Regions from separate parts of the Homo sapiens genome. Here region 2 is linked to region 1. Evidence: promoter capture Hi-C in 16 types of primary human blood cells and fetal thymus (Javierre and others, 2016). All regions are on one chromosome and are shown on one strand. Each heading gives the region's core, a stretch centred on a gene start or on the middle of the fragment in contact. The rest is flanking DNA. Distances are from core to core; before and after follow the strand shown. Region 1 holds the start of KPNB1 (karyopherin subunit beta 1). Region 2 overlaps EFCAB13 (EF-hand calcium binding domain 13).

Region 1 (7,054 bases), core at 3,354-5,853:
GCACAAAATACATGGTAAGGAGATAACAGCCAATGCATACATAACATGCTAGACTGGCATTCACCATGTCTTTTATTTATTTTTTTAAATTAAAATTAAAGCTGCCATATTTTTCTTTTCTTTTTTGAGACAGGGTCTCGCTGCGTTACCCAGGCTGGAGTGCAACGGCGTGATCTCGGCTCACTGCAACCTCCACCTCCTGGGTTCAAGTGATTCTCCTGCCTCAGCCTCCCGAGTAGCTGGGATTAAAGGCTCCTGCCACTACGCCTGGCTAATTTTTGTATTAAGTACAGACAGGGTTTCACCATGTTGGCCAGGCTGGCCTCAAACTCCTGGGCTCAAGTGATCCTCCAGCCTTGGCCTCCCAAAGTGCTGTGATTATAGGCATGAGCCACTGCACTCAGCCCATTCACCATGTCTTAACTCACTTAGGACCTCCCTATTTGTCCCTACATAGTAAGGACAATTAATAGTCTCATTTTACATTGAGGAAAGTTAACTCACAAACTAAGAAGTGGTAGAGCTGGGATAGGAACTCAGGCACCCAATTTCTGGAGTCTGTGCTCATCACTCAAGCTCCGGTACCTCACCAGCATTTATTGAATGTGAGTACTTTTGATAAGAACTAAACAGCACCATCAGTAACTTTAGTTCAACTAAAGTCAGTTCATTTTGATTTTGGTAAGGATTTTATGTTTGATTGGAACTTTGCTGTAAAACTTTTATTTTCCCAGCATTTTACTTCAGCCACAGGGTCTAGCTGTCACCCAGGCTGGAGTGCAGGATCATAGGTCACTGCAGCCTTAAACTCCTGGCCTCAAGTAATCCTCCTGCCTCACCCTCCTGAAGTACATGCCACCATGCCCGGCTTTTTCAAAATTGTATGGGTTGGGCGTGGTGGCTCACGCCTGTAATCCCAGCACTTTGGGAGGCCGAGGTGGGCGGATAACTTGTGGTCAGGAGTTTGAAACCAGCCTGGCCAACATGGTGAAACCCCATCTGAAATATAAAAAAAATTAGCTGGGCGTGGTGGTGGGTACCTGTAATCCCAGCTACTTGGGAAAACAAGGGATTGAGAACAAGGGATTGAGTCGAGCTAGTGCTGAGCGGAGGCAAGATCATACAAGACCTTGCCTGCCATGCAAGTGGTTTTGTCTATATCCTAAGAGCAAAGGAGAATTGCTTGAACCCGGGAGGCGGAGGTTGCAGTGAGCTGAGATGGCACCACCGCCCTCCAGCCCGGGTGAAAGCGAGACTCTGTATCAAAAAAAGAAAGAAAGAAAGAAAGAAAATTGTATAGAGACAGGGTTTTGCTCTTATTTCAGTTGCTTTAAAAATCCATTTGCCCTCACTGGTATCATCATGACTGATGTTGAGACAGAGGTAGCCCAGCAAACTGCTGGAGAGCAGGGGAAAGTTAGCTTGAGTGAAACAAATTATGGATAATTTGTAGTGTAGGTAACTCAGGTAAGGACAATTCCAGGATTTTCACAGATGTCATCTCACTTAATCTTCATTGACTTTTTAGCGGCGGTGGGGGGACACAGTCTCACTGTCGCCCAGGCTGGAGTGCAGTGGCGCAATCTCGGCTCACTGCAACCTCTGACTTCTGGGTTCAAGTGATTCTCCTGCCTCAGCCTCCCAAGTAGCTAGGATTACAGGCTCCCACCACCACACCCGGCTAATTTTTGTATTTTTAGTACAGACAGGGTTTCACCATGTTGGTCAGGCTGGCCTCAAACTCCTGGGCTCAAGAGATCCTCCAGCCTCAGCCTCCCAAAGTACTGCAATGACAGGCGTGAGCCACCACGCATGGCCAATCTTCATTGATTTCTTTTTTTTTGAAATGGAGTCTTGCTCTGGCACCCAGGCTGAATGCAGTGTTGTTTTGTTTTGTTTTGTTTTGAGATGGAGTCTTGCTGTCATCCAGGCTGGAGTACAGTGGGTTTTTTTTGAGATGGAGTCTTGCTCTGTCACCCAGGCTGGAGTGCGGTGGTGCAATCTTAGCTCACTACCACCTCTGCCTCACGGGTTCAGGCAATTCTCCTGCCTCAGCCTACTGAGTAGCTGGGATTGATTGCAGGTGCCCACCACCACGCCCGGCTAATTTTGTATTTCAGTAGAGACAGGGTTTCACTGTGTTGGCCAAGCTGGTCTCTAACTCCGGACCTCAGTTGATCTGCCCACCTCAGCCTCCCAAAGTGCTGGGATTAAAGGCGTGACCCACCACGCCCTGGCCCAATCTTCACTGATTTATAACAAAGTTACACACACAGGGCAGTTCTTCCACAGTTAATAGATGAAGCAAAAGGCTGGGGTTAGCTGCTAAGCCATGGGAAATCCACTAGTCACAGTATGGTGTGAGGAATGGTGTCCCTACATTTCTAGCTTCAAAACTGCAAAGATATCTCTAGCAGAGAAAGACCATTTCTTCCTCTTTTAACAAAGAGTTGGCCAATCTTTCCTAATTCTTTGTGAAACCTTTCAACAAAGTCAGACTTCCTCCTAGGTTTTCCCAGTGTGGCTACTGCAGGGCAATTACCTCACAAGCTCAAGTCATATGGTAAAAAGCTCTATGAACCAGCTACATCCAATTACCCCTACATCATTACTGTGAAAATGAAACAATTCAAGAAATTCTTTGTTACCATTTATTTTTTCTTTTTTTGAGAGTCTTAACTGTCGCCCAGGCTGAAGTGCAGTGGTGAAGTCTTGGCTCACTGCAACCTCTGCCTCCCGGGTTCAAGAGATTCTGTCTCAGCCTCCTGAGGAGCTGAGATTATAGGCGTGCGCCACCACGCTCGGCTAGGTTTTTTTTTTTTTTTTGTATTTTTAGTAGAGACAGGGTTTCACCATGTTGGCCAGACTGGTCTTGAACTCCTGACCTCAAGTGATCCGCCCGCCTCGGCCTCCCAAAGTGCTGGGATTACAGGCATGAGCCACCGCGCCCGGCCCTATTATTACACTTTTCCTTTATCATTTTAAAAATCTTCATTTTTTTTAAAAGAGACAGGATCTCGCTAAGTTGTCCAGGTTAGTCTTGAACCCCTGGGCTCAAGCGATCCTCCCAAAGTCCTGGGATTGCAGGCCTGAGCCACATACTGTATGCACATTTTTTTTCTTTTCTTTGAGATGGAGTCTCGCTCTGTCGCCAGGCTGGACTGCAGTGGCGCGATATCGGCTCACTGCAACCTCTGCGTCCAGGGTTCAAGCGATTCTCCTGCCTCAGCCTCAGGAATAGCTTGGACTTCAGGTACGCGCCACCACACCGGGCTAATTTTTTATATTTTAGTAGAGACGGGGTTTCACCATGTTGGCCAGGATGGTCTCGATCTCTTGACTCGTCATCCGCCCCCCTCGGCCTCCCAAAGTGCTGGGATTACAGGCGCGAGCCACAGCGCCCGGCCCACGTTTTCTTTATATGCATTTTGCTAAGAAAAGGCATTCATGAGTTTCTTCCGGGGTTGAGAACTGAAACAGGTTAAGAACCACAATCCTTTATTCCTGTACACACATTCTTTCTGGTTCGAGGTTGGGCCTTTACAGGGTACTTTTGGAGGGTGAAACATTTCCATCCTGTCAAGTACCTGGTAGCTATGGATGGGGGGTCTAAGAGGAGGAATCCCTTAGCTCACCCCTAAGCAAGTCAGATTTATCACAGCACAGGTCTCAAGCCCCATATAAGCAGGCTTAGGGGACTCCTTGGAGAGGAAGCTGCTTGTAGGGACAAGGGCCGTCAGGAGAGCTTGAGCTTATCAAGCCACTAACCAGCTGTGTGACCTTGGACAAGTTCCAGACCCTCTCTGGGCTCCTGAACCCATTCCTTACCAAGCCATTAACCAGCTGTGTGACCTTGGACAAGTTCCATACCCTCTCTGGGCTTCAGTTTCCACATCTACACATTGGCAGTGGAGCCACATGGCCTTACGGATCCCTCCCAGCCGAAAGCAGGGTACCAAGCCGACCTAGCCATTAAAGCAGCTTCCTGTGGGCGCGGCGCAGGACTTCAACAGTCCCCCCTCCCCCGCTCAGGCCCGCGAAAACCTCGCGCAACACGCCCCTCGGAGCGACGGCGCTTACCCAACCGCAGCCCCAGCGCTCGAACCCAGCTCCGCCTCTTCCCGGGGGCGTCCCATCGTGCCCCGCGCCGGGCTCCTAGGGTTGCCGGGCACCTCCCGCCTTCCCGCGCCCCGACCCCGAACTCCTCTCCTTAGTTCTCCCGGGCACCCTATCCTATCAACGCCTACTATCCCAGCCAATCGCGCAGGATCCGAGTCGTGCCTCCGGTCCACCCTCCTCCCAGCGCTCAGCCGGTCTGAGCTCAAGGCCTTTACCAAGCCCACCCAATCAACGGCGGGCTCTCTCCTACCCCATCCCAATCTCCCTCCCCTCGGCCAATCCGCGCGCTCCATTCCGCTGCCCGCCCAGCCAACCCGGGCCTTGAAACCAGCAGGCGAATGGGCGCGAGACGGCCCTTCGACGCTGAGCGCCTGGCCAGTTAGGGATTCCGCGTGGCCAGGACAACGGCCAATCGTCGTGGAGCGCGGCGCCTCCGCGGAGAGGTCCGGTCCGAATATCCCTCCGCCTTCCTCCCTCCCTCGCTCCCTCCCTGCGCGCCGCCTCTCACTCACAGCCTCCCTTCCTTCTTTCTCCCTCCGCCTCCCGAGCACCAGCGCGCTCTGAGCTGCCCCCAGGGTCCCTCCCCCGCCGCCAGCAGCCCATTTGGAGGGAGGAAGTAAGGGAAGAGGAGAGGAAGGGGAGCCGGACCGACTACCCAGACAGAGCCGGTGAATGGGTTTGTGGTGACCCCCGCCCCCCACCCCACCCTCCCTTCCCACCCGACCCCCAACCCCCATCCCCAGTTCGAGCCGCCGCCCGAAAGGCCGGGCCGTCGTCTTAGGAGGAGTCGCCGCCGCCGCCACCTCCGCCATGGAGCTGATCACCATTCTCGAGAAGACCGTGTCTCCCGGTAGGACGCAGGAGCCGGGGGTAGGGCTGAGGTGATTGGGGTGGGGGAGGGGAGGCCCGGCCCCTCTGACCCCGCTCCGTCTCCCACTTTCCTCCCCCTAGATCGGCTGGAGCTGGAAGCGGCGCAGAAGTTCCTGGAGCGTGCGGCCGTGGAGAACCTGGTGCGTGCTACCCCGCCGCGCCCATCCCGCCGCGTCCCCATCCCCTGCGTGCGGGGCCTTCCCGCCCTCCCGGAGGCCCAGGCCTCGGGAACCTACCCCGCCCCATCCCGTCCCCCTCCCCCCTCCCCCTCCCCCCCCAACCCGGTCCAACCTAACCCCGCCATCGGGAAGCCGGTGGGTGTGTCCCGCCCCGGGCCTCGCGACTGGCCAATGGCTTGGCGCGCCGAGCTGCCTGCCGCCCAATCGTTGCGCGGCCTGAGGGCGGCGGTGCAGCGGGAGGGAGAAAGAGGGAGGGAAGGGAAGTTAGGTTGCGCGGCGCTGCGTGTTCAGCAGGGGTGGGGGCGGGGGAGTCGGGCCTAGGGGCCATGTGGAAGCTCCGGGCCCGGCCGCCCGCCCTGTCTGACCCCGGCCGGCTTCTCCTTCCTATCCCGTGGCCCCTGTGGCTCTCCCCACCTATTTCCTAGAGCTCTGCCCTTTCCTAGCTACCTTGGTCTGTACTCATGGCCAGGCCTGGCACCCGACTGCCTCTTAACCCATTTCCACTGATATTTTTCCCTCTTTGCTCGGTTATTCCTCTCTTGGGGTTTTTTCTTTTTCTTTCTTTCTTTTTTTTTTTTCTTCTGACCTGGATGAATAGAGACCTAATCACTAGGGATCTGCACCCAGAAAACAGACTGAGGCTCATCTTTGAGATGGGGCCTGTTTGCTGATGAAATCACAGGGGAAAGTTCCTCGTTTTTCATATTTTAAAATTTAAGGGGTCCGGAGAAAATGAAGCTAAGTCCGCTAGAGACTGGTCCTTTGTATAAAAATGTGGGATGGATTGGTTGAAACAGCCTAGATGCCAGTTAAGTTTCTCTTTGGTGTCCATCTCCTGTTGGGGGATGGGGTCAGAGGGAAGGATTGGATGATGCTTGACATCTTTGAGAAAGGTAATAGGAATTAAGTCTGAGTAACACTAACCATATGTGTTCCTTTGTGTTATATAGGCAAAATGTCAACATCAACAAAGTGACAAGGCTTATTTTATACAGACTGCCTTTGAATGATTTTTTTGTTGTTTTTCATATGTGCCAATTTTTACAACTAACCTGTTTATCCTTTCCTAGAAGAGATTTTTCCACTAGTATAGGCTGATAATTCCATTTAGGGTATTATTCCTGTTTCTGCTTTTGCAAATTTTGCAAAAAGCTTTTTATCTTATTCCTAACATTCTTAACATTCTTTAGTGGTACATAATTAATAAAACTTTTAAGAATTATCTTCTGCTGTGATTGCAGAGCTTGTTAGCAGTAAGAAAAATGTGTCTGCTTTTGACTTTTCCTGCTAACTTTGCTGTTTGGGCACGGTTTTTGGTGGAGAGGTGTGTGTGTGCTAAATTTTTAAACAAAGGGAGTAGTTTTTGAGGCCTGTGGATTACAAAAGGTTACAAAAGAACATGCTTTTCAGGGATCCACTGTATTCCTCAACTAAAGTCCAAATGTAAAGGAGCAAGTAATTGTTGATCATTAGATACAAAGTTATTTTGCTTGAACAGCTTGCCTGAAGATTTTTTCTTTCACTTTTTCCCTATTTCTAAATATCTTATCACTTTTCCTTATAAATCTGCTTTTTTCATTGTTCCCTTTTTGCTGAGTGCCCACAAATAAAACGGAGGATGAGGCTCCTAAGTTTGTTTTAGGCTTATCTGTATTTCCCCCTCTCATAAAAGATCACCTCCTTCCATGGATTGAAAAGCTACCCTGCTGCTGCCATGAGATGGAAAGTTGGATCATTCTTTTGGGACCAAGGTTTTTGAAATTTAGATAAACAGTTTTATTTTCTACCCCCCATCATAACAGCCATTCATTTAACAAACATTGAGTACCAGACATTATTAAAAGTTCTTGGGACACCTCAGTATACATAGAAGACTGACTACTACT
Region 2 (7,054 bases), core at 1,290-3,789, 320 kb before region 1:
AAGAACCAGGTATGGGGAAATTGGATGAAATAGTAGAATGATTAGATAAGTAGATTGGAGAGTATTTTATCATGAAGTCAGTCTATTATATTCTGATTATCAGTGGGGATAAAACAGCTAATAATTTATGACGCAAAGAAAGGGAATTTTGAGGGGGTGTGTCTGGCATTGTCATAAGTAAACAAGGGGGGCATTCCAGAGTCTTACCTAAGTCATATGGGGAGGAGTGGTTTGCAGTAAGCCATTTTCCAGAACACAAAAGGGTGGGGGGATTCCTTTAACCCTCACTGTTTTCTGGGAGTTTAGGGCTCAAGTGAAATTCAGCATTGTCAATTGAGAGTCCTAATCTTTTAAATTTATCCTTGTTAAAGATCTGACGCTACTGTGTAAAACATGTACCTATACTATAGTCTGAAAAATAATCTCAGAGACTCTTGAAAAGTGCTGAGATATGTACTTTATATCATATATATACACATATATACATTTAAAATTTACCTTTTTATACCTACTACTTTGTTGATTTTGCCCTTATAAACTGATTTTGAAGATGAATTCTTAAAAATTAATATTAAAGTATCATACCGGTTTGTTTTCCTTAGACTGTATAATTTATACTTCACAGATGGCTCACCTTTTACTACAATGTTTCTGAGATTGTTTTCTTCTTCTGTGTCAAAAGCTTCTACTCTTTGTTTTCATTCACTTGGCCTTTGGTAACAGGTTTTTCTGTCTTTTTAGATTTCCTACCCCTTTTCCCCCTCAGCTTTCTATTTTGGGTCATTTTTTTCAATCTCTTTAGGAATCCTTTCATCATTTGTAATACACATCTCATCAAGGCAGCAAATCAAATTGCCTTTTTGAAACAACTTAAAGGTATGCCTTTGTTATAAGACAAATGATGCAGATTCTAAAAGTCACTGAAATAGTTCTGTTAATTTCCATCCTGTGGAAACAGAGATTCTCTCTAAACTTCCTTGGTAATCTTTATAAATTGTCTGTGTAATCTTCATGGTCACCTTTGGGTTCAAAGACTCAGGACTAATGCACCTTTGATCGACTGGATGCCGCCAGTTGTCTTAAGCAAACAGCCAGATTTCAGGAGAGAATATTTCCAACTGCATTCTTCTATTTCTAAACGTTTATTGTCACTAAACTCTATTTCTTTTTGGGGGGGTGGGGAGTGGTGTCTATTTAGAAGCAATATAGCTTCTTTTTTTTTAAATATAGGCTTTGTTTTTTGTTATTTTATTTTTTGTAGAGAAAGATATTTATTTATTTAATATTTTTTATTTCAGTAGCTTCAGGGGTACAAGTGGTTTTTGGTTACATGGCTGAATTATACAGTGGTGAAGTCTGGGCTTTTAGTGTACCTGTTACCTGAATAGTATACATTGTACCCAACAGGTAGTTTTTCATCCTTCACTTCCCTGTCCCCTCTCCACTTCTGAATCTCTACCACTCCATATGCCTTTTTGGATCCATAGCTTAGCTCCCATTTATAAATGAGAATATGTGGTATTTGGTTTTTTTGTTCCTGAGTTACTTCACTTAGGATAATGGCCTCCAGTTTCATCCAAGTTGCTGCAAAAGACATTATTTTGTTCTTTTTTATGGGTGAGTAGTATTCCGTAGTATATATACCACATTTTCTTTAACCTCTCATCAGTTGATGGGTACTTAGGTTGGTTCCATACCTTTGGTATTGTGAATTGTGCTGAGATAAACATATATGTGTAGGTTTTTTTTTTGATACAACAACTTTTTTTTCCCTTTGGGTAGATACCCAGTAGTGGGTTTGCTGGATTGAACGATAGATCTACCTTTATTTCTTTGAGAAATCTCCATACTGTTTTCTGTGGAAATTATACTAATTTACATCATCCCATCTGCACCAACATTTATTGTTTTTTGACTTTTTAATAATGGCCATTCTGGCTGGGGTAAGGTGATATCTTATTGTGGTTTTAATTTGTATTTCCCTGGTGATTGGTGATGTTGAGCATTTTTCATGTATTTGTTGACCATTTGTATATCTTCTTTTGAGAAATATCTGTTCATGTTATTTTCCCACTTTTTAATGGGAGTACTTGTTTTTTTGCTGCTGATTTGTTTGAATTCCTTGTAAATTCTGGATATTAGTCCTTTGTTGGATGTATAGTTTGCAAATATTTTCTCTCATTCTGTTGGTTGTCTGTTTACTGTGTTGATTATTATTTTTGCTGTGTAAGAGCTTCTGAATTTAATTAGGTCTCATTTATTTATTTTTGTTTTTGTTACATTTGCTCTTGGGGTCATAGTCATAAATTCTTTGCCTAAGCCAGTGTCCAGAAGAGTTTTTCCTAGGTAGTCTTCTAGAATTTTTATGGTTTCAGGTCTTAAATATGTAGACTTTTTTTTAGAGCAGTTTTAGGTTCATAAAAAAAATGAGCAGAAAATAGAGAGTTACCATATACCTACTGCCCCTATACATGCACAGCTTACCCTGCTATCAACATCCTGTACCAGAGTGGTACATTTGTTGTAATTGGTGAACCAACATTGGCACATCATTATCACTCAAAGTCCATAGTTTACATTAGAGTTCACTTTTGTTGTACATTCTATGGGTTTGAACAAATGTATTATGACATATAGTCAACATTATAGTATCATACAGAATAATCACATTGCCCTAAAATCTTCTGTGCTCTAGCTATTTACTTCTCCTTCCCCCATCCCCTGGCAAACACTGATTTTTTACTGTCTCCATAGTTTTGCCTTTTCCAGAATGTCATATAGTTGGAATTATACAATATGGAACCATTCAGGTCGGGCTTTTTTCACTTAATGTGCATTTAAAGTTTTTAAATGTATTTTCAAGGCTTGATAGCTCACTTCTTTTTAGCACTAAATAATATCCCATTCTCTACATTTAGCACAGTTTATTTATTAATTACTGAAGGACATCTTGATTGCTTTCAAGTTTTGGCAATTATGAGTACAGCTGCTATAAACATCCAATTGTAGGTTTTTATGTGGAAATAAAGTTTCAACTTGTTAGAGTAAATACTAACAAGTGCAATAGTTGGATTGTATGGTAAAAGTATGTTTAGTTTTGTAAGAAACTGCCAAACTGTATTCCAAAGTGGTTGTACCATTTTGCATTCCCATCAGCAATGATGAGAGTTCTTGCTTCACATCCTTGCCAGCATTTGTTGTTGTCAGTGTTTTGGGTTATTGCCATTCTTTTTTCTTAATTGAGTTTTTTATTATTATTTTAGATTGACAAATAATAATTGTGTGTATTTTGGGGGCATAATGTAGTATTTTGATCTATGTATACATTATAGAAATATTTAATCTAGCTATTAGCATAATCATTACCAACTTTTTTTGTGGTAAGAACATAAAAAAATTTTAGTGATTTTGAAGTATATATTATTTACTAACCATGTTCACCAATGCATTAGATCACTAAAACTTGTTCCTCCAGTCTAACTGAAACTCTGTGCCCTTTGATCAATGTCTTCCCATTCCCCATCCCTCTTCCTCCCCCAAACCTCTCCACCCCCCAGCCTCTGATAACCATCTTTCTACTCCCTGTTTCTATGAGAACAACATTTTTAGATTTCACATGTAAGTGAGATCATACAGTGTTTGTCTTTCTGTGCCTGGCTTATTTTACTTAGCATAGTGTCTTCCAGTTCTATCCATGTTATCGTGAATGACAGTTTCCTTCTTTTTAAAGGCTGTATGGTATTCATTTGTATATATTCACCACATTTTCTTTATGTATTCATCTGTTGATGGACACTTAGGTTACTTTTATATCTTGGCTATTGTGAATAATGCTGAAATGAATATGGGAGTGCAGATATCTCTTCAACATATTAATTTCAATTCCTTTGGATATATACCCAGAAGTGGGATTGCTGGATCACACGGTAATTCTGTTTTTAGTTTTTGAGGAACCTCCATACTGTTTTCTGGAATGGCTGTACTAACATTCATACCAACAGTGTGCAGATGTTCCCTTTTCTCCACATCCTTGCCAACACTTGTTATCCTTTGTCTTTTTGATAATAGCTGTTCTAACAGAATAGCTAACAGAATATCTAACAGAATAGTGTGAGATGATATCTCATTGCAATTTTATTTTGCATTTCCCTAATAATTAGTGATATTGAGCATTTTTTCACAAACCTATAGGCCATTCGTATGTCTTCTTTTGAGAATGTCTGTTCAGATCCTTCACACATTTTTTGATTGGATAGTTTGTTTTCTTGCTTGAGTTGAGTTCCTTATGTAATTTGGGTATAAATCCTTTATCGCCTTAACAGATGTAAGGTTTGCAAATATTTTCTCCCTTTCTGTGGGTTGTTTCTCACCTGTTGATTGTTTCCCTTGCTGTACAGAAGCTTTTTAGTTTCATATAATCCCATTTTCCATTTTTGCTTTTGTTGCCTGTGCTTATAGAGTCTTATCCAACAAATCATTCCCCAGACCAATGTGGTAGAGCTTTTCCCCTATCTTCTTGTAACTTTACAGTTTTAGGTCTTGTGTTTAAATCTTTAATGCATTTTAAATTGATTTTTGTATATGGTGTGAGATAATGTCCCAATTTCATTTTTCTGCAGAAGGATATCCAGTTTTCCCAATGCCATTTATTGAAGAGACTGTTCTTTCCCCATTGTGTGTACTTGGCACCTTTGTTGAAAATCAGCTGACTGTAAATATTTGGAAAATTTCTAGGCTTCCTATCCTGTCCTATTGATTGGTGTGTCCTATTGATTGGTTATGCCAGTAACATTCTGTTTTGATTACTATAGCTTTATCATCTGTTTTGAAATTAGGAAGTGTGATGCCTCCAACTTTGTTCTTTTTGCTTAAGATTGCTTTGGCTATATGGGGTGTTTACTGTTTCCATATGAATGTTAGGATTTTTTTATTTCTGTGAAAAATGACATCGGAATTTTGAGAGGAATTGCATTGAATCTGTAGATATCATTGGAAAGTATGGACATTTAAACAATATTAATTTTTTGAATCCATGAACTTGGGCTATTTTCTCATTTATTTGTGTCTTCTTCAGTTTCCTTTATCAAAGTTTTATAGTTTTTTTTTTGTTAAAATTTCATCATTCTAACAGGTATGTAATGATGGTATTTCCTTTTAATTTGCAGTTCCCTAATCCCATTATAATGTTGAGCCTCTTTTCATATCATTATTTACCATGTTTCTGTGTATCTTCTTTGGTGAGGTGTCTGTTCAAGTCTTTAGCTCATTTTAAAATTGAGTTCTTTTTTATTATGTTTTAAGAGTTCTTTGTATATTTTGGATGACAGTTCTTTATAAAATATGTCTTTTGAAAACATTTTCTCCCAGTCTGTGACTTGTCCTTTCATTGTCTTGATATGGTGTCTTTCACAGAGCAGAAGCTTTAAATGAAGTTTAACTTATCGATTATTTCTTTCATGGATCATGGCTTTAGTTTGTATCTAAAATCGAGTTAATGTTTATAATAAAAATACTGCTTTGCAAAGAGTATGATAAACTTTTGTATCTTTCTTGGCAAAGAGTATGATAAACTTTTGTACCTTGATGCCTTAAGAGCTAGATCCAGGCTGGGAGAGGTAGCTCATGCCTGTAATTCTAGCACTTTGGGAGGCTGAGGTGGGAGGACTGCTTGAGCTCAGAAGTTCGAGACCAGCCTTGGCAATGTAGGGAGACCTCGTCTCTACGAATAATAAAAAATTAGCCACGCATGATGGTGCATGTCTGTGGTCTCAGCTTCTCAGGAGGCTGAGGTGGGAGAATTGCTTGAGCCTGGGAGGTCAAGGCTGCAGTGAGCCATGATTGCACCACGGACTCCACCCTAGGCAACAAAAAGAGACCCTGTCTCAAAAAAAGAAAAAGTGCTAGATGCAATAACTGTTAGACATATTCATAAATGATGTTCTTTTATAGCTGTATAATGCACTAAGGATAATTGGAGTTATTTAGAGTATGTACTGAATCTGGAAAAATAATACATTAGTGAGTAAAACCTTTTTCAACAAAATTCTCTTCGGTAGCACTATTTGAGAAAGAATATCAATCTAAAATGAATGATTGACCCAGAATGTCATATTTAATATGTATGTGCAAAGAGGACATGCTTGATTGTGGCTCTTATATTCCCCAGGCAGAGGAAAATATTGACTTATTAGATGATGGCTCTAATTCTTTTGCAACTGACTTGTCATCAGGAACTATTAACCACAAGAAATACATCAAGTTTTCTAAAACAATAGAGAAGGAAATTTCACCGGAAATTAGGAGTTTGAGCCCAGAATATAAAAAAATGTAAGTTAAAAACTCTGAACTTACTTTATTGAATTATACTTTTGCAAGTTAAGAATGCCAAAATGTAGCTGTGGCTTATGCGTTCTCATAATGTACCATGTGTATAGGATCATGCATATTTGTGGTCATTCTTTCAGTAGCATAATTTTAACTCCTAAATAGCTGTTCTTACATTTTTTCTGACTTCTCTCACAGCCATCTATAGGCTTCCATGTTGTCTAAGTTGGTTCTCACATTGTTATAAAGAACTACTTGAGACTACGTAATTTATAAATAAAAGAGGTTTAATTGCTCATGGTTCTGCAGACTTTACAGGAAGCGAGGCTGGGGAAGCCTCAGGAAACTTAGAATCATGGTGGAAGGGGAAGGGGGAGCAAGCATATCTTCACAAGGCCAGCAGGAGGGAGAGTGAAGAGGGAAGTGCCACATACTTTTAAACAAACAGATCTCATGAGAACTCACTCAGTATCATGAGAACAACAAGTGGGAAATCTGCCCCCATGATCCAATCACTTCCTACCAGGTCTCTCCCCCAATATTGGGGATTACAATTCAACATGAGATTTAGGTAGGGACACAGAGTCAAACTATATCACATGTGGAAGCCTATAAGTAAGCTATAAGCTAACTGGAATCATAGGATTCTAGTTAGAGGAGAACAGTTATCCATATGTCTGTTAAGTTTGTCTTAAAGAGAATTTAAGAAGGAAACAGAAGGTTCTTTCCT

What was found. The method cuts DNA at HindIII sites, captures the fragments that hold promoters and counts their contacts. A CHiCAGO score of 5 or more calls a contact.
Region 2: a contact is called between a fragment that was not itself captured here and the fragment with the promoter of KPNB1 in region 1, in 4 of 17 cell types (erythroblasts, naive B cells, megakaryocytes and 1 more). The highest score is 9.9, in erythroblasts.

Annotation. Positions count from the first base shown.
Region 1 is chr17:47,645,316-47,652,369 of GRCh38, forward strand. KPNB1 (karyopherin subunit beta 1) reads left to right here and starts at 4,604. Exons shown (of 22, transcript NM_002265.6): 1 at 4,604-4,969; 2 at 5,071-5,129. The coding sequence starts at 4,930. KPNB1-DT (KPNB1 divergent transcript) reads right to left here and starts at 4,113. Exons shown (of 4, transcript NR_171700.1): 1 at 4,081-4,113. RefSeq lists an enhancer at 2,759-3,604 and silencers at 4,005-4,274, 4,285-4,334, 4,345-4,524, 4,955-5,024, 5,135-5,274 and 1 more. The HindIII fragment of the contact is 6,441 bases long and covers 1-6,318 here.
Region 2 is chr17:47,329,030-47,336,083 of GRCh38, forward strand. It overlaps EFCAB13 (EF-hand calcium binding domain 13), which reads left to right. Exons shown (of 25, transcript NM_152347.5): 5 at 6,167-6,327. Among named protein-coding and RNA genes, the nearest start is that of EFCAB13, 8.6 kb to the left of the region's middle. The HindIII fragment of the contact is 3,718 bases long and covers 681-4,398 here.